Linked DNA regions of Homo sapiens: regions 1, 2, 3, 4, 5 and 7 are each linked to region 6. The links are contacts of gene promoters, found by promoter capture Hi-C in blood cells and fetal thymus (Javierre and others, 2016). All regions are on one chromosome and are shown on one strand. The core of a region is centred on a gene start or on the middle of the fragment in contact, and the rest is flanking DNA. Distances in the headings are between cores, read along the strand shown. Region 1 overlaps SLC35A3 (solute carrier family 35 member A3). Region 2 has its middle 130 kb from the start of PLPPR5-AS1. Region 3 overlaps FRRS1 (ferric chelate reductase 1). Region 4 overlaps SASS6 (SAS-6 centriolar assembly protein). Region 5 has its middle 12 kb from the start of AGL. Region 6 holds the start of RNPC3 (RNA binding region (RNP1, RRM) containing 3). Region 7 overlaps SLC71A1 (solute carrier family 71 member 1).

Evidence for each region. The method cuts DNA at HindIII sites, captures the fragments that hold promoters and counts their contacts. A CHiCAGO score of 5 or more calls a contact.
Region 1: a fragment that was not itself captured here is called in contact with the fragment with the promoter of RNPC3 in region 6 in 1 of 17 cell types (fetal thymus); the score reaches 6.5 in fetal thymus.
Region 2: a contact is called between a fragment that was not itself captured here and the fragment with the promoter of RNPC3 in region 6, in 1 of 17 cell types (total CD4 T cells). The highest score is 8.6, in total CD4 T cells.
Region 3: a contact is called between a fragment that was not itself captured here and the fragment with the promoter of RNPC3 in region 6, in 1 of 17 cell types (total CD4 T cells). The highest score is 6.0, in total CD4 T cells.
Region 4: a contact is called between a fragment that was not itself captured here and the fragment with the promoter of RNPC3 in region 6, in 1 of 17 cell types (total CD4 T cells). The highest score is 5.8, in total CD4 T cells.
Region 5: a fragment that was not itself captured here is called in contact with the fragment with the promoter of RNPC3 in region 6 in 1 of 17 cell types (naive B cells); the score reaches 5.4 in naive B cells.
Region 7: a fragment that was not itself captured here is called in contact with the fragment with the promoter of RNPC3 in region 6 in 3 of 17 cell types (total CD4 T cells, non-activated CD4 T cells and fetal thymus); the score reaches 8.1 in total CD4 T cells.

The regions. Positions count from the first base shown.
Region 1 is chr1:100,025,994-100,028,702 of GRCh38, reverse strand. It overlaps SLC35A3 (solute carrier family 35 member A3), which reads right to left. Exons shown (of 8, transcript NM_012243.3): 8 at 1-2,709. The region is part of intron 1 of LOC124904230 (a long non-coding RNA gene); the gene reads left to right. Among named protein-coding and RNA genes, the nearest start is that of SLC71A1, 11 kb to the left of the region's middle. The HindIII fragment of the contact is 3,323 bases long and covers 1-2,709 here.
Region 2 is chr1:98,868,344-98,871,314 of GRCh38, reverse strand. No RefSeq gene overlaps it. Among named protein-coding and RNA genes, the nearest start is that of PLPPR5-AS1, 130 kb to the left of the region's middle. The HindIII fragment of the contact is 1,497 bases long and covers 955-2,451 here.
Region 3 is chr1:99,762,300-99,765,394 of GRCh38, reverse strand. All of the region lies in intron 1 of FRRS1 (ferric chelate reductase 1), which reads left to right. Among named protein-coding and RNA genes, the nearest start is that of FRRS1, 2.8 kb to the left of the region's middle. The HindIII fragment of the contact is 1,699 bases long and covers 487-2,185 here.
Region 4 is chr1:100,099,664-100,102,510 of GRCh38, reverse strand. The region is part of intron 14 of SASS6 (SAS-6 centriolar assembly protein); the gene reads left to right. Among named protein-coding and RNA genes, the nearest start is that of SASS6, 32 kb to the left of the region's middle. The HindIII fragment of the contact is 4,262 bases long and covers 1-2,847 here.
Region 5 is chr1:99,837,433-99,840,165 of GRCh38, reverse strand. No RefSeq gene overlaps it. Among named protein-coding and RNA genes, the nearest start is that of AGL, 12 kb to the left of the region's middle. The HindIII fragment of the contact is 241 bases long and covers 1,296-1,536 here.
Region 6 is chr1:103,524,389-103,527,455 of GRCh38, reverse strand. RNPC3 (RNA binding region (RNP1, RRM) containing 3) reads right to left here and starts at 1,757. Exons shown (of 15, transcript NM_017619.4): 1 at 1,194-1,757. The coding sequence starts at 1,385. It overlaps RNPC3-DT (RNPC3 divergent transcript), which reads left to right and starts at 1,948. Exons shown (of 4, transcript NR_168321.1): 1 at 1,948-2,060. RefSeq lists an enhancer at 1,306-1,545 and a silencer at 1,866-1,965. The HindIII fragment of the contact is 7,657 bases long and covers 1-3,067 here.
Region 7 is chr1:100,044,543-100,047,593 of GRCh38, reverse strand. All of the region lies in intron 1 of SLC71A1 (solute carrier family 71 member 1), which reads right to left. Among named protein-coding and RNA genes, the nearest start is that of SLC71A1, 8.0 kb to the right of the region's middle. RefSeq lists enhancers at 454-503, 534-613. The HindIII fragment of the contact is 4,393 bases long and covers 1-3,051 here.

The DNA of each region.
Region 1 (2,709 bases), core at 56-2,555, 3.5 Mb after region 6:
TTTCTAGAGTGTATATGTAATCGGTCCTGCCTTAAAGGAATTCTCTTTTTAAGAACAGTAAGAAAGACCAATATGGGCTGGGTGTGGTCGCTCACGCCTGTAATCCCAACACTTTGGGAGGCCAAGGCAGGCAGATCACTGAAGCTCAGGAGTTTGAGACCAATCCGGGCAACATGGCAAAACCCCATCTCTACAAAAAAATACAAAAATCAGCTGGGCATGGTGGCGCGCACCTGTATTCCCAGCTGCTTGGGGGCCGAGGCTCCTGGGAGGATCACTTGAGCTTGCTCTATCAAGGCTGCAGTGAGCCAAGATTGTGTCACCGCACTCCAGCCTAGGCAACGGGAGGAAGACCTTGTCTCAAAAACAAAAAACAAAAAACAAAACAGAAAAACACCCCAAAAAACCCCACCAGTATGATTACTAATGCTGGTCACTATCAGTCTCTTTTGAAAGGCAGTATTGGCCGGGCGCAGCGGCTCACGCCTGTAAACCCAGCACTTTGGGAGGCCGAGGCAGGCGGATCACCTGAGGTCAGGAGTTTGAGACCAGCCTGGCCAACATGGTGAAACCCTGTCTCTACTAAAAATACAAAAATTAGTTGGGCGTGGTGGCATGGCCTGTAATCCCAGTTACTAGGGAGGCTGAGGCAGGAGAATTGCTTGAACCTGGGAGGCAGAGGTTGCAGTGAGGTCACACCACTGCAGCCTAGGTGACAGAGCGAGACACCATCTCAAAAAAAAAAAAAAAAAAAAAAAAAAGGTAGTATTATCTATAAGATTCAGATTCTAAGATACTTTTGCATAGCAGTGGAACTTGAGGATTGTGATATATTTCCAACAAAAGAAGCACTGTAATACAAAAAAGATTATTAAATATTTTTAGTTAGTGCTTTTCATGAGAGGTTGCCAAAGAAAAATATACACTTTAAAAATGCTGGCACTTTAGTGATTTTTTTACAAAGTATTTTGTGTAAGGTTACTTCAGCAGTAGAGATAGGACTAAAATCCTGTATATTATCACAATTGATCTCCATGCATTCAATTGACAGTCACAATGGAAGCAATTATATTCAAATTATGAAGAAAATACATACCAAACTTCTATAATTACTTAACCTTGAGGCTAGCCTAGAGATATTTAAAACAAAAAATCTGTTAGGCTGTTATTAACATATAGAAAGATAAATTCTAACTAGCTTAAATAAACCCAGTCTTTTTTTGTTGTTTCAGTTTTTGTTTTGTTTGTTTTTTGAGACAGAGTCTCACTGTCACTCAGGCTAGAGTCCAGTAGTGTCATCATGGTTTACTGCAGCATCAAATTGCTGGGCTCAAGCAATCCTTCTGCCTCAGCCTCCTGAGTAGCTGGCCCCACAGGTGCATGCCCACATATTGGCTAATTTTATTTTTAAGATTTTTTGTAGAAACAAGGCTATGTTGCCCAGGCTGGCCTCAAATTCATGGGCTCAAGCGATTCTTCTGCCTTGGCTTCCTAAAGTGTTGGGATTACAGGAATGAGCCACTGCACCTGGCCAACCCAGTATTTCATGCTAGAATATGGGCTAGAGAAAAGGAAGAAAGATCACATGTGACAGTGATAGAGATACTACAGAGCCAGAGAAAAAGATCAGTAATTCATTTTTGATATATAAAGAGAGAAGACTAATTCATAGGTTAGGTCATAGACACAGGTAAATAGGAAAATAAGGAAATATAGAAAAAGATTTGTATAGAGTTCTTTATGAAAATAATCTATTTCAATAAATCTATTAAATAGGTAATAGCTGGATACCAAAAAATGACAAGAGAAGTTTATCAATTAAAAAGCCATTTAACAAAAGACCAATTTATACATTCCTTTGAATTATGTCCATAAAAAATTTAAATATACAAATTACATTATCAAACCCAAAAGAATCTTTCTAAACAAATGAAATACAGATATAGACAAAGTCAGGATCCAAATTATTTTAAAAAGTTTTTAAATTATTTTGTAATTACAAATGAAACAACAAACTGACAGTTTTATACAATTGTTAAAGTTTCAAAAAGTTCAATGATGGAGCAATAGTATCACAATTTATTTAAGTACTGTTCACAAATGTTTATGCTTTTGTAATATACCTATTTTAATTTTGTTAATGAATTTGAAGAGCTAATGTTGAAACAACCAAAAAAATAGAAATGTATTTATTCTTAAAAATCCTAATTTTGCCCATGTGTCTACAGTTGTGAATTACAGGAACACCCTCCAGAAAAATCAGGTATTTGGTAAAGCAAGGCACATAGGACCAGATTTTGATAAAGGTGCTTGTTCTCTGCTCCTATAACTACTTTAAATAACCTGGAGATTCTTAAGATGACTTTCAATATAGCATAAATAACTTTTATAAACCTTTTTTATGTAAAGCATACACCCATGATAATTAAATATTATAATGTGAATGTGTAAATCAAATGAGTGATGCTAAACCCTTTAAGAAAAAACCCAACTCAGTTTAATGACTATACAATGAAATTTTTAAAGTTCAATAATTTGATATGTAAGAATAATCAGTATTACAGTAAGTGTAGAGAACATAATTAGTTTCCTTTCAGATTATATCTTAGAATCTAAATATCAAGCTACCTTTCCTTCCATGAAATTATGTGACATTCAATATAAATTGATGTAAACATTTAAGTTTTGCATCTCTATACTATATATTCC
Region 2 (2,971 bases), core at 454-2,953, 4.7 Mb after region 6:
ATGCTGCTATATCTAGTGATCTCTCTTGATTTCTATTGTCATCTTTCTTGAGACATTACAAGAACAAAGGGCACTGATAACACCTGTATGCAGCTTCAGAATCAGGCTTAACTCAGCAACTCAGTGGATAGGGAAGGCACGATTGGCTCAGGCTGGAATCAGGTGGACCTATCTTCCTTATCAGCAGATGAGCAATTATATGAGAAGTCATGATTTACTCTAATGACATTATGTCTTCTCTGGAAGGAAAAAAATTAATCCTAGAGACAGAGCGCCTCAAAGCCAGGATATCGTAAGTGTATTGACAGCTGAACTCAGACAAAATTATGGACGAGACTAAATTAAGTTTCAAGTCTCCTCCCACATGCCCACCTCTTAGTTTCTCCATAATTAAGCCTGCTTGGAGTGATTACCATACTTCATTCCCTTCCAAAATATATTTTTTCTTCTATTTCCTCCACCACAAAACTTAGTAATTTATAGACTCATTGCTTTAAAAATAACCTTTCGGCCTTAGCACACCTTAGACATTTAAGAAAATGCTGGCTTATCTGATAAGTGGGGAAAAAAGTGTCAAGAAAAAAATGCTCATTAGATGCAAGGAGTGCTTCCAATTAGGTAGTTAAATATGCTGAATCCTGTAAATCTTTGTATAGCAACACATGGCAGATTATAACTGCTGGGATGACCCTTACATATAGTGAATATGAAATAGTCAAACAGTAAAGTCCTAGCTAGGTGGCTGGGTGGCACTCCGTTTTAAGTAATTTTTAAAACCAACCACAATATCCCCACTGGGAAATTTGCTACACAGAAAGTGGCCACTGTTTACAGCCATTGGTCACTCTCCAACCCAACAACTCATTTATTCTTCATAACTCTTATCAATATGCAGAAATATTTACTTGTATTATTATTATTTATTACATATGTTCCCTTACTAGAATTTAAGCTTCAAGAAAAAAAGAACCTTGACCATGACTAGATCCTTAGGAACTAAATAAATATTTGTTGAAAGAATAAATGAATCTAAAACCCAAGCCTTTGACAGTACCCCATAATTAAAGCCAGAGATAATTATAGAATCCCATTCTTCTTAGCTACTGAGAAAATTTTAGAAGATACTTTATCAATGTATATGTATAATACATATATTATATACAAATATATGCACATTTTACATAAAGACCAGAAAATATGATGGTATAACTTAATGTTGAAGAGAAAGAAAGGGGCAAAGGGAAAGGCGGCTTTTTAGACACTAAGTAAAATTTGGCCACTTGGTAATTTTCCCTTAGGTAGGACCTCATCAGAAAGCCTACTTAATTTAATGCAGTTGAGATTTTTCCAGGTGTCAGCCTTCATGCTGATGATATTTCTCAAAACTTCTTATTATATCTTTCAAAATAAGCAATTCCAACTTCTTTACTCATCCTTTAGGAGTCCTGTTGTTTCTTCTCTATTGGATCCAGCTATGAATTACTCTGGCACTTGAGATTTCACTTGCACCTTATATCAGAGACTGTGAAAGCAAATGCTTACAAGACCAGGAAGATAACAATAATGAGTGATACCTTGGTCTTTTTGTGAAAATGTTTTTCATTGTATGAATGAGGGGTATGTACCCACACAGAGTGGTGGAGGTTGCTATGTGTAGCTCCTGTCAATTGTTGTGATACCAGAATTAAGACCCTCCACCACCGGATCATCTAATATTTCAAGAGAATCCAGAAATCTGGATTGTATGAGAAAATTATAGTCTTCAGTTGGATTGATTTTTATAAACCACTTGAGGATACACAAGTTAGGTCTATGTATCCAGTGCAACATGCTATCAGTTGTTTTTCAATTCTAAAATAATGATACTCTGGTTACTTTTCTCAAGACATATGCAGACTTTGGCTCTCTAAGACCTTTGACTAGCTGTGTTAGGACACATTAGTCTACCAGACTGTGTGGGGCAAGCAACATATCATGCAGCACCCTCGTTTAATAGTGATTACAGCAGTTTCACCCAGCTCATGTAAATGCCTAAGACAGTCCTGGCTATTGGCAATACTGTAGAATATTAGAATGACCTTGCCTTTCGTCTGGGTCATACACTGATTTTATATACATATATGAGTTTTCTGTGTTGGTTCCTTATTACAGACCTTCTTGCCTTCTTTTCAGCTTGTTGGCATTTGAGCCAATGCTATGGCCCAGCCATGTTATAAAATCATAATGATTCCCAATTACCTAATATGTGAAGTGTTGGGTACTTTTTCCCTTCAGGGTTTTTCATAGCTAGTAATGTAATAAACTATGTTCAATTTGGCCCATTCATTGTACTTGAAGAGGATGATATATATTCCATACCTGAACTATTGATTATTCATTAAAATTCAGCCCTTCCTTTTCCCCTGATTAATTCCTGTCAGTTTAATTTCTCTTCTTCTATTACAATAAGCTTTCAATTGTTTCCTGACCACAAGTCTCATGCTCATTTTGCCAGTCATTCAAACATATGCCCAAATAACTATTTAAAATCTATGTTTCTATCATAATCAGATAATATTCATAGTTACTTATCTGTAGGATAACATCTATGTATCAAAGCATGTGATATTATAAGAACAAAATATTTAAAATGGTGCTTTTTGCCACTTTCTCAAACAATCTAATATTTAGTCCCAATTCTGCAGAGACCACTTGCTTTCACACCTCTCTGGCTTTACCATGTTTACACTATTCTTTTCAGCTATCCATACCCATTGTATCTTTTGAACACTGACCAAACAGCAATTCTATTTGACCATTTCCTCAACAATTCCAGATAGTATTGTTTTCCTTACCTGTGCTATTTACTTTTATGATAGCATTCAACATATCTTTTTAGATTTTTTATTTTTCCTTATATTTGCTTGGGATCTTAAAGTAGATGGGGACCATGTGTTCATTTATATAGAACCACTACTCTAGTGCTGAAACT
Region 3 (3,095 bases), core at 87-2,586, 3.8 Mb after region 6:
CCCAGCGTCAGGTCATCTGCCTGCCTCGGCCTCCCAAAGTGCTGGGATTACAGGCGTGAGCCACCGCGCCCAGCCACTTCTGTATTTTTAAAAAAGTGGTAAGATTTGAGTATTATACTGGGATAGAACTGAAGTTGGGGGCTTAATTTGATCTATCAGCTTATTGAAAACAAAGACCTTTTAAGAGATGGTTTTGTTAGGTTGGAGAAGTGAGTTTTAGTTCGTCATTTAGTTAGCCAGTATGTTGATTTTTTTGGTGAAGTGTACTCTCTGTTTCACACCTGTCAGCTTTTTTAATATTGGATTTTCTCAAAATTCACATAACAATCACACTGTATGAGTACTGTTTTGAAGGTTGTCTGCTAGTCAGAATGAATGGAGATCAATGTGTAGGACACCTTTACTGATATCCAGAGGTTTACCAAAAGACAAGTCACCAAATGTGGCAGAAAAACATGATAAAATTTATTAGGAAAAACTAAAGCTTATGGAGTGAACAGTTATTTCAGGTTGGTGGAATTAGGCAAGAATCCAAGAAAGGAAGACAGTTTTATATGGGAGACTTTGTTAATGGTGGTCATTGTGCTAGATATTTTGGAGATAGTATTTTATTTAATCCTCATGCAAGCCATTGATATTGGTGGCATTGTCTCTAACAAGTGAGAAAACTAAGACTCAGTAAGGTTAAATAATTTGTCCAGGGTCACTATGGTGGTGCCTGCTGGATTACATTAATGGACAGATTCAAACCTAGGTCTGTGATATTTCAAAGTCCATACACTTCATTGTATCATAGGACAGTAGTTGACGGCGTTTTAAATGGATCTTGAAAGAGGGGTGAAGGTCTTCTTTATCAAAACAAACAAAAATAGTAAAAGTAACATAGAATGTTTGAAAATAGAAAAAAGAAAATATCTAACCACCTTCAAATCAGTTTCTGTACAGTCTTACATGTACATACTTTGTAGTGTTTTTTGAAATTATAAAACACTACATGCTTTAAAAAAAATGCACATTATAAAGGGCATTAAAGAAAGGAAGCCCACTCTTCCCATCCTGAAAACACATACCTTCCTAAGGGGTAAACACTGTTGAGAACAATTGGAAGCATGTATAAAGGTTTTTTTCTTTTCCTTTTAAGTTATGTATATTTTGGTACATTCCATATCATTTTGCAGTTTTCTTGTTTTGATTCCTCAGTGGAGCATGAGCATGTATCTTCTTAACATGCAGATTCATGTCTTGGGATTTTTGTGAAATGAGTTCATACTTGCAAAGTACTTAAAACAATGCCTACCTCCTAGAATGCACTCAATAATTATTAGCTGATGTATTTGTTATCTGTTTACTCTATTTCATTTTGTTAACGTTTAGCAAGTATTATATAGTTTGGGTATAGCGTAGTTTATTTTTGTAACCACTTAAATTATCCAACATTTTTGCTACTGGAAATAATCCTTGCTTAACTGTATGGGTTTTTCTGTAAGATATATTTCTTTTCTTTTCATTCTTTTTTTTTTTTTTTTGAGACAGAGTTTCACTCTTGTTGCCCAGGCTGGAGTGCAATGGTGCCATCTCGGCTCACCTCAACCTCTGCCTCCAGGGTTCAAGCGATTCTTCTGCCTCAGCCTCCCGAGTAGCTGGGATTACAGGCATGCACCCCCAAGCCCGGCTACTTTTGTATTTTTAGTAGAGAAGGGGTTTCTCCATGTTGGTCAGGCTGGTCTCGAACTTCTAACCTTAGGTGATCTGCCCGCCTGGGCCTCCCAAAGTGCTGGGATTACAGGTGTCAGCCACTGCGCCCGAACTGTAAGATACATTTCTAGAAATGAAATTTCCAGGTCAGAGGATAAACATTTTTAATTTACTAAGATATTGTTAACATCTAAAAATGTGACAGTTTACCATTGTCCCTGTGTATGAGAGTGCTCGTTTCTTCACATCCTTGCTTATATCAGATATTATTACTCTTTTGCATATTACATGAAATAATGGGGAATACACAGTTCTACCTAGTTTGAGCATAGTGTACAGAGATTATTGTATCTTATTTTTCAGTGTAACATTTATTTTTATATGGACAGGAATTTAACCAAATTCCTGTCCATATAAAAATAGGGGGTCCCATTTAGGGGAAAAATAGGGGTCCCATTTAGAAGGCAAAACTTCAGGAGAAAAAGAAGCTTATTCCTGGAATAGCAGATGGCACATTGTTATTACAGTATAGGGAAAAAAAATTCTTGAAATTTTGGTTGTGTAGAAAAGTATAAAATATTAAATGTCGAGTGCCTTTGCTTCTTAATCTAATAATTCTTGGGAAGCTGCTGAGTGTTTTGCGGGGAGAGGAGAGGTATAATGAGAATTGTACCTTAGGAAAATAATCCTGTGTTGAGGAGATACAGAAACAGGGAGACCAGTTGAAAGTGTTTTATTAATCTGAGTGAAGGTAATGAAGTCTTCATGCTTGGAGGTGGTGGCAGAAAGGAAAACACTAGACAAATGTAATAGAATGGAAAGTAGAAGAGAGTTGCAAGAGGGATAGGTAGAGTGCAGAATTGGTGGAGGTAGAATCTGCAGAGCTTGTGTGGAAGTTGGGGACCAAAAGAGTGTTTGGAATCCAATCCTGAGAGTTCGGGGTTTGAAATCCTGCTGATGAGAAATGTGTTGACAGACCACCATCAGATTAGGAAAGTGAGGTTCAAAAACTAGTCTGGAGGAAAATATGAATTTCACTTCAGACAAATTGAGTTTTTTGTTATCTAAACAGAAGTCCATACCCAGTTGGAAATCTGTGTCACAGCATTGTAGAGCTGTGGGGTGGAGCAATTGAAAGATTTAAGAAATACTATCCTAGAGGTTATAATTGAGGCTGTGGAAGTGATGATCCTACAGAGAAACAGGGCAAAAAAAAAAAAGGGAAAAAAAAAGAAAGAAAGAAAAGCCAAGAGAAAAAGTCTTGGAGAAGGATATTTTCATGAAAGAGACGTAAAAGAGGAACCAGACTTAATTAAAATATTTTTACAATGACTATTTCTGACATTTGATTTTGATTCTAGTTAGACTTCCTTACTGCCTCCAAAAAATGTGGTGGAAAA
Region 4 (2,847 bases), core at 93-2,592, 3.4 Mb after region 6:
GAGGTGAGGTTTCGCCATGTTGGCCAGGCTGGTCTCGAACTCCTGGCCTCAAGTGATCCGCCTGCCTTGGCCTCCCAAGGTGCTGGGATTGCAGGCCTGAGCCACCACGCCCGGCCAGCCTTTCCGTTTTTATTCATTCTTCTACTTGTGTCTCCTACGCTCTCAGGCCTGGCTAGGATTTCTGACTTCATACTGTTGGAGTCTGAGCTATGATTTGGAGTCCATTGCTAGAATTTAAAGGTCTGGTAGGGCAGGCTTAAATCAAATTCTAAAATTTAGTTCTGACAGCATTATCTCAGATAAGATATGACTAGCAATCCCCCCAACCCTTGATATATTTGTTAAGGCTTTCTTCTACCTACTTCTTTTTCCTCATTTTTATTATTATCTTAGATTTATGTATTTTTTATGTATTATAATTTTGTTTTCACAATAGTTTAATCCACCCAGACCAGTCACTGCTTTTATTTTCATTGCTAACTTCAGATCCAGGTTTATTTTTTCTTAAATAATGAGACAAATAAACATTTATGAAAAAATATTGTATAAAAGATAAAATTGAGGACTTTGAAACTGGTATTACAAACTCTATCAAATTAGGTCTGGGCTACTCTAAAAATAAGTTGGCTGTGTTGCTTAGGCATGTGCTCTTTTTAGCCATAGCCTTATTATTGCCAGTAGCTATGGAGAATTCTCAGTTAAATGAAAATTAAGCCTGAGTTTTTATGCCTGGAATACTGTTATGTAAAGAGTACTTAGATGCATATAACTGGCTCTTCTTGCATTGCTTATTAAGGAGAATTAGATATGTGCATTCGAAGGAATGTCTATTGTTTTATTATCAGTTTCAGTATACTCAAGTGTCGTTGTATCTTGGGATCATTTTTTTTCTTTAGAATTATAAGTGAATTCACAGTTGTTTTTTATTTAAACAACTTTCCAGGAATATATATATAATGTCCAAAATGAGGACAAGTACTACTAGAGACAGTTGCCTACTTGGTAGGACTAAAGATGGCTTATAAAATAATACTATCATTCTTATAGGTCTTGTGGAATCAGAGGAATCATTATAATAATTATGTTCTTAAATACAGGAGCAAGACTTTCAGTGTTTCCTGTATCGGTGATCTCCATATTCTTTTAATTATGTATCCCTAACAGGGAAAAAAAAAAACCCTAAAACAGAACAATTTGCGCTCTCATCTCAAATACATTAATGTGTATTTATTTGTGAATTTATGCATATACTACTGAAATACTATATGCCGTATAATTATTGGTTAAGAAGGCGGAATCTGATGTTAGGATTTAAAACCTGCCTCTATCAACCTGAAGTTGATCAAGCCACTGAAAAACAAACAACATTCAACTCTTACACTTCAGTTTTCCCACTTATAAAATGGAGTGATAATTTTCTCTACCTTACTGGATTATTGAGTTAAGTGAATTAATGCATTTGCTTAGAATAGTACCTGGTTCATGATAAGTGCTCTGTAAATGTTATATTATTAATAATAAAATATATTCAAAAATAGAAATTAAAGAATCAGACTAAAAATGGATGTAAATGAAAGTTGTAAGATTTTCTTCTCAGACCTCAGTGAATGGTCCTAATTACTGCCTACTTTGTCCTCCCCGACTCAAAGACCCACTTTAAAGCACCAAATACCACCTACTTTGGTGATCATTGATCTAGGTAGTTTTGTGCTAGCAGCTATGTTGATTAAAACATGTACTTTTGAATTACAGTTTTTAAAAATGACGCTTTTATTTTTGACGTTGAACCTGTGATCTTCCTGATGTCTTAAAATGTTACTGTCAAGATTGAATACATTCAAGGATGTTTAACTGTGGGAATGTAAAATAACATGAGAAATTTGGCAAGAAACAAAATAATGCTGAAAGAATATGTGAGAATATTTAACAAGATTGTGCTGTTCTGACAAATAGAACAAATACTTGATAATTTTAAAGCAAGATACACAAAACTACGTGTTTTTTCTCTTTTATTTTTGGATACAATGATAGCCAAAGATTCATTCATTGAACAAGTATTTAATGAATGTCTGTTATCTGCTGTGGCCAGGCATAGTTTTAGTTGCAGGAGATGACAGCAGTGAACAAGACAAATGCCCTGACACTATGGTGCTTACATTTTGTGGTGAAACACCAGTAGATAGTAAATTGTAATGTCTTTCAAACTAAACTGTTTATTCATTCATTCATTTATTCATTTATTTTTGTGACAGAGTCTCACTCTGTCACCAAGGCTAGAGTGCAGTGGCATGATCTTAGCTCACTGCAACCTCCACCTCCCAGGTTCAAGCGATTCTCATGCCTCAGCCTCCCGAGTAGCTGAGATTACAGGTGTGCAGCACCACACCTGGCTAATTTTTGTATTTTTAGTAGAGACGGGGTTTCACCATGTTGGTCAGGCTGATCTCTAACTCCTGACCTCAAGTGATCCACCTGCCTCGGCCTCCCAAGTGGTGGGATTACAGGCATGAGCCTCTGTGCCTGGCTTGGGTTACATTCTTGATCTTCAAGGTCAAACTTTCATCAAGGAGATTATGAAGTATGTGAGGGATTTTCTGCAGTGAGGAACGGGCCAGATGATTGATTTATCTTTTTTCTTTTAATCTGGTTGAAAGGCTTAGGGAGACAATTCTGTTTACTGTTAAGGACCAAAAAACAAAGTCTGGAAATGCCGTACACAATGGTCATGAACTACAAAATAGTAGTGGAGTGGAGAGGAGACACAGTAATACACAGCATTATTTTGAGTGAGCTCCAGCTTTTCATTCTAACCCTTGAACCGAGGAGAAACAGCTGTCCTTTTTCATT
Region 5 (2,733 bases), core at 167-2,666, 3.7 Mb after region 6:
CCAACACTTATTTTCTATTTTTTGTTTTTTTTATAGTAGCCATCCTGGTAGATGTGAGATGGTATCTCAATGTGTTTTTGATTTTCATTTCCCTAATGGGTAGTGATGTTGAACATTTTTTTATGTGCTTACTGGCCATTTGTAAATCTTTTGGAGACATGTCTATTTAAGTCCTCTGCCTACTTTTGAATTTTTGTTGTTGTTGTTGAGTTTTAGATTAGTTCATTACATATTCTAGATATTAATCCCTTATCAGATGTATGATTTTAAAATATTTTCCCCCATTCTGTAGGCTGTCTTTTCATGCTATTGATAGTGTCCTTTGAAGCACAAAAGTTTTACATTTTAATGAAATCCAATTAATCTATTTGCTTTTTGCCTGTGTCTTTGGTGTCATATTCATTGCCAAATTCAATATCATGAAGTTTTGCCCTATATTTTCTTCTAAGAATTATATAGTTTTAGCTCTTTTGTTAGGTCTATGATTCATTTTGAATTAATTTTTGTATATGGGGTTAGGTTAACAGTCCATTTTCATTATTTTGCATGTGGCTATTCAGTTTTCCCAGCACTATTTGTTGAAAAGACTGTCCTTTCCCCACTGAATGGTCTTAGTACTGTTGTTGGAAAACATTTGACTATATATACTGGGGTTTATTTCTGGGCTCTCTATTCTATTTCATTTGTCTATCTATATATCTGTCTTTATGCCAGTACCACACTGTTTCAATTACCAAAGTTTTGTAGTAAGTTTTAAAATCAGGAAATGTGAGTCCTCCAATGTTGTTCTTCTTTTTCAAGATTGTTTTAGCTGTTCAGGGTCCCTTAAGATTCCACATGAATATTAAAACTAATTTTTCTATTTCTGTAAAAAAAAAGTCAATCTGTAGATCACTTTGGGTAGTACTGACATTTTGACAATATTAATCTTCTAATCCATGAACCATGGGATGGTTTTCCATTTATTTATGTCTTTCTTAATTTCTTTTAGCAATGTTTTATAGTTTTCAGTGTACAGGTCTCCTTTTGGTTTGTGAATTCCTAAGTTTTTAAATGCTATTTTAAATAGAATTGTTTTCTTAATTTCCTTTCAGATTACTCATTGTTAGTGTATCAAAATGCAATTGATTTCTGTGCATTGACTTTGTATCCTGCTGCTTTGCTGAATTCATTTATTCTAACTGTGTGTGTGTGTGTGTGTGTGTGTGTGTGTGTGTGTGGTATCTTAGTTTCCTACATATCACATCTGTGAACAGAGATAATTTTACTTGTTCCTTTTCAATTTGGATGAAGCTTTCATTTATTTGTCTTGATCAATTGTTCTGTCTAGGACTTTCAATATGTTGAATAGAAGTGGTGGAAGTGGTTATCCTTGCTTTGTTCCTGACCTTAGAAGAAAAGTTTTCAGTCTTTCACTGTTGAGTATGATGTTTGCTGTAGATTTTTTTACATATGGCTTTTATTAGGTTGAGGTAGTTTTCTTCTAGTTTGCTGAGTGTTTGTATCATGAAATGATGTTGAATTTTGTCAAAAGCTTTTTCTGCATCAATTGAGATGATTCTTTATTTTTTATGTTTAATTTTTTTTTTTTTTTTTTGAGACAGAGTTCTCACTCTGTTGCCCAGGCTGGAGTGCAGTGGCGTGATCTTGGCTCACTGCGACCTCTGCCTCCCGGGTTCAAGTGATTCTCCTGCCTCAGCCTCCTAAGTAGCTGGGACTACAGGTGTGTGCCACCACACCTGGCTAATTTTTGTATTTTTAGTAGAGACAGGGTTTCACCATGTTGGCCAGGTTGGTCTTGAACTCCTGACCTCAAATGATCCGCCTGCCTCGGCCTCCCAAAGTGCTGGGAATACAGGTGTGAGCTACAGTGCCTGGCCTCTTTATTTTTTAAAGAATACATATTTTCTTTTCCTTTTTGAAGTATCACAGGAAAGGGCTTGATTTTGCTATATCTTATAGCAGCATGGTAAATTTATGGTTAGCATAGTGCTAACCATGATGCATTTACTGTCTTTTCAAAAGCTTTAACTTTGGTTAGTTTTTTTTTTTTCCTCAGTTTTGAATAGGAATTGATTTGACAGCTGATTTTGTGTGTCCTTTGCCCAGCTCAGAAGGGTGGAAAACAAACCTGTCAAAACAAAGCTCTCAGAGTGGCAAAATTCCTAAGAATGCATCAGGTATCCTGACCTAACAATTAAATGTCTGTCCTACTAGAGGGTGAGCTTATTGAGAGGAGAAAATATCTTTTCTCCGGAATCCCCAGCACCTAAAACATTGCCTGTTGTATAGAAAACACTCAATAACATCTTGAGAAGGAATCCAAGAACAGTGTGTCTCTTGCCCTTTCTTCCCTGTCCTTTCCCCAAGAGAGAATACATCAAAATCAGTAACTTCCATATAGTTAATTTACTGTGAAGTATAAATATGAAAACATTCAAGTTCTACAAATAGTGCAAAAGTGAGCAGTTATGACATTTGACAAACTATTGTTGAATTGAAAGGTTTAGAGTTTGGTATTAAGAAAGGACTGTACTCTCTCATGTACTCCATGTCATAATTGATTGCTTTCTTTTTCCAAAGCTATATAGACTCATGTATTATCCACTTCTTCTTCTTTTTTTTTTTTTTGAGACGGAGTTTCGCTCTTGTTGCCCAGGCTGGAGTGCAATGGCGCGATCTTGGCTCACCGCAACTTCCGCCTCCCAGGTTCAAGCAATTCTCCTGCCTCAG
Region 6 (3,067 bases), core at 508-3,007:
AAATAGTTCAAAAGACCAAAAGTTTAAAGACCTGTTCTACACAGAGGGTCACTTTTAACCAACTAAAAATTTATTTCCTTCATTTATGACAGATCTAAAGATTTTAAACTTTCCTCTATACATAACAATGCGTAGTTTAAAAACATTCACCAACAGAGAAATCGTTCTTCAAGGTGCATATTTCCTTTGTGCTTTATCTTTGTAATAATGTTCAATGGGAGAAGTCTATTTTTAAACATAAATTATACGGATTTTAAAAACCATCAGAAAAGAAACACAAATCAACAGTAAAAGAATCACTATGCTAAGGAAGAGCTCTGGTCAATGCTTATTAAAAGTTACTTTAATAATTATATCGCACATTCTAATTTTGTCTAATCTGATACACGATGACCTGATGTACTTAAATTGAGCCATATATAATTTTTTTTTTTTAATTTGCAGGCATAAGTGACATTTAAACTGATCAAAATTGGTCTTTCTTCTAATTCAGTAACTCTCAACTTGGGCTGCACATTAACATTAAAATCACCTAGGGAAACTTTAAAACCACTGAGTCTTGCACCATCGCTATTCCTATTTTAATGAAGAGAAATCTAAAATATCTTTGGATATAAAGCAAAACAAAGTAATTGTGTAAATTCCTACACAGGTACTCTTAACAGCCCTAAAAAATTGTTCCCTAAAAGATGTCATCGGGAAATTTTTATGAAAAGCCTCTTTTTCTAGTTGAAATTCTGCATTTAATTTACGCAAGTCACCAATGTAGCTTCTCCTCTATTTTAATGAACGATTTAACATTGGCTTATAAATGAAGTAGGACTTTAAAAAATCCCTTGATGCACATTTGTAAGAATACTCTTGAGTCCAGGAGAAATAACCCCAAATTCAAAAAAGTTGTGAGGCTCTCAGGATGGATCCGAAAACTCAATATAACTAAGCTAATTTCCATTCTTCTGCTTTGTCGTTCTCACTTGCCCTTTTCTGCAGTGCTATGACTAATCCAGACTCGAGCCGATTAAAACTCCACTTCGCAGAGCAGATATTTTGATAAAAAAGAGGTAGGATGGGGGAGCTCTCATCACACAAGTCCATCTTCCCCACTCGTTTCCATTTTACTCTTGTCAGCGCTCCCCCTCCCCGGTCACTTCCCAAATGCCTTCCCGGGAGACTCCGGAGGGGCGCGCCCTTACCAGTCGCCCCTTATCTGACAGGACCCGCACAGACTGAGCCCCGAAGTACTTCAGCAAGTCCTCTTTCTCCTCAGCAGTAAGCTCAGCCGGCAGGTGCCTGACCAGAAGGGTTCGGTCGCCCCGAGGCGGGGAAAGCGAGGAGGAGCTCGTGCATCCCCTTGATATCGCAAGCGGCTGCTCGGGAGCTGCCATTTTCCTTGGAGAAGCAAAAACAGAAATCGTGGGAAGAAGTCTCAGTCAAAATCGCGGCATCAACACAAGCTGGGAGAAATATTTTTTCCGCCTCGCGCTAAGGATTCTGGAAACCAGGAAATACCGAGAAAGAAAGTCACCTTCTCGCGAGAACTGCGCCACCGAAAAGCGGCAACCCTTCGAAGACTCTTCGGGGAAGGGCGCGGTGCTAATGATTTAAATTCCAGGGGTCTCCGGAAAGACTTACAAGCAAAAATTGGCCCAGAGATGTGCGAGGGTTAACACAAGTTGTCAATCAAAGAAGGAAACAGGAACCCCAGCCACTTCAGGGAAAGAAGGTTGACGCTCAAGGACAAGAGGACTCACGACTGCGCATGTGCGGGCTGGGACCGTCACAGGGCGGGGCGGGGCGCACGGCGGGGCGGGGCGCACGGCGGGGCGGGGCGCACGGCGGGGCGGGGCGCACGGCGGGGCGGGGCGCACGGCGGGGCGGGGCGCACGGCGGGGCGGGGCGCACGGCGGGGCGGGGCGCACGGCGGGGCGGGGCGCACGGCGGGGCGGGGCGCACGGCGGCGAGCGCTATCTGGAGCTGACCGTGCGGCTCTTAATCCCTGGCCTTGGGAAAGTGAATTGGCCTGAATAGCAAGGAGGAGAACTTGGGTGTGGAAATACCGGGTATGTTCTTACAGTATTTAGATGGTAAAATATAAAGCTAGCCAGTTATTCTGTCAACTCATTAGACACCATTGTAGGGAGGAGAACTCAGTTTAAGGGGCAAAACGTTGAGAGTTCAGACTTTTTTCTTGAATCAGTAGGCATTTAGCAGACGGATAGGCCCCTGCCAGGGTTCATTTCGCAGAAATGGCAGCCTCTAGGGAGAGGTAACCTAATAAATAAATTATTGCATGTGTGTGTATGTGTGTGTGTGTAGGGGTGTGTGTGTGTGTGTGTGTGTATGTGTGTGTGTGTGTAGGTGTAGGTACTTTTCTCCCTATTTTACAGCTGAGGACACTGATGTACAAAGAGGTTAAATCACACAGCTAGAAAGTGGAAGAACTAAGTTTTGACCCTTGGTGTTCTGACTGGGGGTCTACATTCTAATCCACTGTTCTGCCTAGATTCTGAATGGAGTGAGGCAGGGATCATCCCCGGAGGGTCAGGAATGTACCCCTCACCCCATACAGAGAGGGCCTTGAGGATTCTAAAGAGAGGTTTTATGCTAGATGTAGCTGCTACAGTCTGGAGAACCAGAGTTCCTCTTACAGTTCTTTTTGCCACTTAAATAAATGTTAGAGATACAGCAGTAAGCAGTATACCAGCAATCTGCTGTCATCCCGCATTGGTTGGGGAAAAGGAGAGAGACAGATATTAATGAAAACTAGAAGACAAACATGAGAAGAACCTTCCCCACACACCCACCAAAATATCAGATAGGTAGAGCCAGACCACGTAGACGCTGTAGATTTGTTAGGAGCCCTTTTTATTTGAGGAACATTTAGAAACTGACAAATTCTTTAAGTAGGTGTGTGTTGAGGGGAGAGAATCAAAGTTTAGGTATGAAAATTTCTCCGGTTGCAATGCAAAAAACAGAAGCAGAAAGACCAGTTGGACTACTGTAGAAGTCTGGAGAAAAACACTACCATAATAGTTTGGTGAAAGTGGACATGTAGAGAAGGAACTGG
Region 7 (3,051 bases), core at 434-2,933, 3.5 Mb after region 6:
AAAATTAGCCAGGCGTGGTGGCGCATGCCTGTAATCCCAGCTACTCAGGAAGCTGAGGCAGGAGAATCGCTTGAACGCGGGAGGCGGAAGTTGCGGTGAGCCAAGATTGCGCCATTGCATTCCAGCCTGGGCAACAAGAGCAAAACTCCGTCTCAAAAAAATTAAAAACAAAAAAATCATTCATCATGTTCAAGTGGGATTCATCCAGGTATGAAAGGATAGTCCAACATACATAAATCTATCAAGGTGATACATCATTTCAAAAGAATGAAGGAAAATAAAATGATCATTTCAATTAATGATGAAAAAGCATTTACTAAAATTCAACACTGCTTCATAAAAACTCTCAAAAATGGTATAGAAGGAACATACCTCAATATGATAAAAGCCATATATGACAGACACAGAGCTATCATGCTGAACAGGGAAAACCTGAAAGCCTTTCCTCAAAGATCTGGAACAAGACAAAGATGCCCACTTTCGCCACTCTTATTCAACAAAGTACTGGAAAGTACCAACTAGAGCAATTAAGCATGAGTAAGAAATAAAAGGCATGCAAATTAGAAAACAGGAAGTCAAAACTGTCCCTCTTTACAGATGACATGACCTTATATAGAGAGAACCCTAAATACTCCACCAAAAAACTATCAGAATGGAAGCAAATTCACTGAAGTTGCAGGATACAAAAATCAGTACCATTTCTATATGCCAACAGCAAATATCTGAAAAAGAAACCAAGAAAATAATCCCACTTACAATAGCTACAGATGTAATACCTAAGAATAAACTTAAAGAAGTGAAAGATGTCTACAGACTACAAAACATTGATGACACGAATTGAAGAGGACACACACACAAATGGGAAGATATTTCATGTTCATAAATTGGAAGAATCAATACTGTTAAAATTTTAATACTACCAAAAGCAATCTACAGATTCAATGCAGTTACTATCAAACTACAAATGACATTCCTCACAGAATTTTTTCTTTTAAATCCTAAAACTTATATGGAACCACAAGAGCCAGAACAGCCAAAGCAATCCTGAGCAAAAAGAACAAGGCTGGAGGCTGGGCACAGTGACTCACGCCTGTAATCCCAGCACTTTGGGAGGCCAAGGCGGGCGGATCACCTGAGGTCAGGAGTTCAAGACCAGCCTGGCCATCAAAGTGAAACCCCGTCTCTACTAAAAATACAAAAATTAGCCAGGCGTGGTGGTGGGACCTGTAATCCCAGTTCCTCGGGAAACTGAGGCAGGAGAATCACTTGAACCAGGGAGGCAGAGGTTGCAGTGAGCCAAGATTGCGCCACTGCACTCCAGCCTAGGCGACAGAGCTAGACTCTGTCTCAAAAAAAAAAAAAAAAAAAAAAAAAAAAAAAACGAGGCTTGGAGGAATCACATTACTTCACTTCAAATTATACTACAAAGTGATAGTAACCAAAACAGCATAATACTGGTATAAAAACAGATACATAGACAATAGAGCACAATAGAGAACCCAGAAATAAATCCATGCATTTACAGTCAACTCATTTTTGACAACGGCACCGAAGTATACATTGGGAAAAGGATAGTCTCCTAAATGGTGCTAGGAAAAGTGGATATCCATATACAGAAGAATAAAATTATACCCCTACCTCTTGCCATGTACAACAATCAAATCAAAATGGATTAAAGACTTAAATCTAAAACCTGAAACCACAAACGACTAGAAGAAAACATTGGGAATACACTCTAGGACATTAGTCTGAACAGATTTATTTATTTATTTATTTATTTTGAGACAGAGTCTCCCCGTCACCCAGGCTGGAGTACACTACTGTACTATGTATGTCGCCTGGGCGACAGAGCGAGACTCTGTCTCAAAAAATAAAAAATAAAATAAAATAAAAGTGGAATTGGCATGTTCCTAACACAAAGAAATGATAAAAGTTTGAGGTAATGGATACCCCAGTATCCCTGATTTATTATACACTGTATACCTGTATCAACATATGCTTGTATCAAAATATCAGATGTACCTGATAAATATCTGTATCTACTTTGTACCCATAGTAATTAAAAAATTTAGAAGTCCTAACCAGAGTAATCAGACAAGAGAAAGGAATAACGAGCATGCAAATTGGAAAAGAGGAAATCAAACTGCCACTGTTTGCCAATGATATGACTGTATACCTAGAAAACCCTAATGACGCATCCAAAAAGCTCCGAGATCTGATAAACGATTCAGTAAAGTCTCAGGATACAAAATCAATGACACAAATCAATAGCACTGCTATATTCCAGCAACGACAAAGCTGAGAATCAAATCAAGAACTCAATCCCTTTTACAATAGCTGCAAAAAAAACAAAACACCTAGGAATACACTTAACCAAGGAAGTGAAAGATCTTTACAAGGAAAAGTACAAAACACTGTTAAAAGAAATCATAAATGACACAAAGGGAAACACATCCCATGTTCATGGAAGGGAAGAATCAACATTGTGAAAATGACTATACTGACCAAAACAATCTATAGATTCAATGCAATTCCCATCAAAATACCAGCATCATACTTCACAGAACAAGAAAAAACAATCCTAAAATTCATATGGAACCAAAAAAGAGCCCACATAGCCAAAGCAAGACTAAGCAAAAAACAAATCTGGAGGCATCACATTACCCGACTTTAAATTATACAAAAGGCTACAGTTACCAAAACCGCATGGTACTGGTATAAAAATAGGCATGAAGACCAATGGAACACAACAGATAACCCAGAAATAAAGCAAAATACTTATAGCCGCCTAGGCATGCCTGTAATCCCAGCATCTTGGGAGGCCAAGGCGGGTGGATCACCTAAGGTCAGTAGTTTGAGTCCAGCCTGGCCAACATAGAGAAAACTCGTCTCTACTAAAAATACAAAAAAGTTAGCCAGGCATGGTGGTGTGTGCCTGTAATCCCAGCTACTTGGGAGGCTGAGGCAGGAGAATGGCTTGAACCTGAGAGGCAGAGGTTGCAGGGAGCCAAGATCATGCCATTGCACTCCAGCCTGGGAAACAAGAGCAAA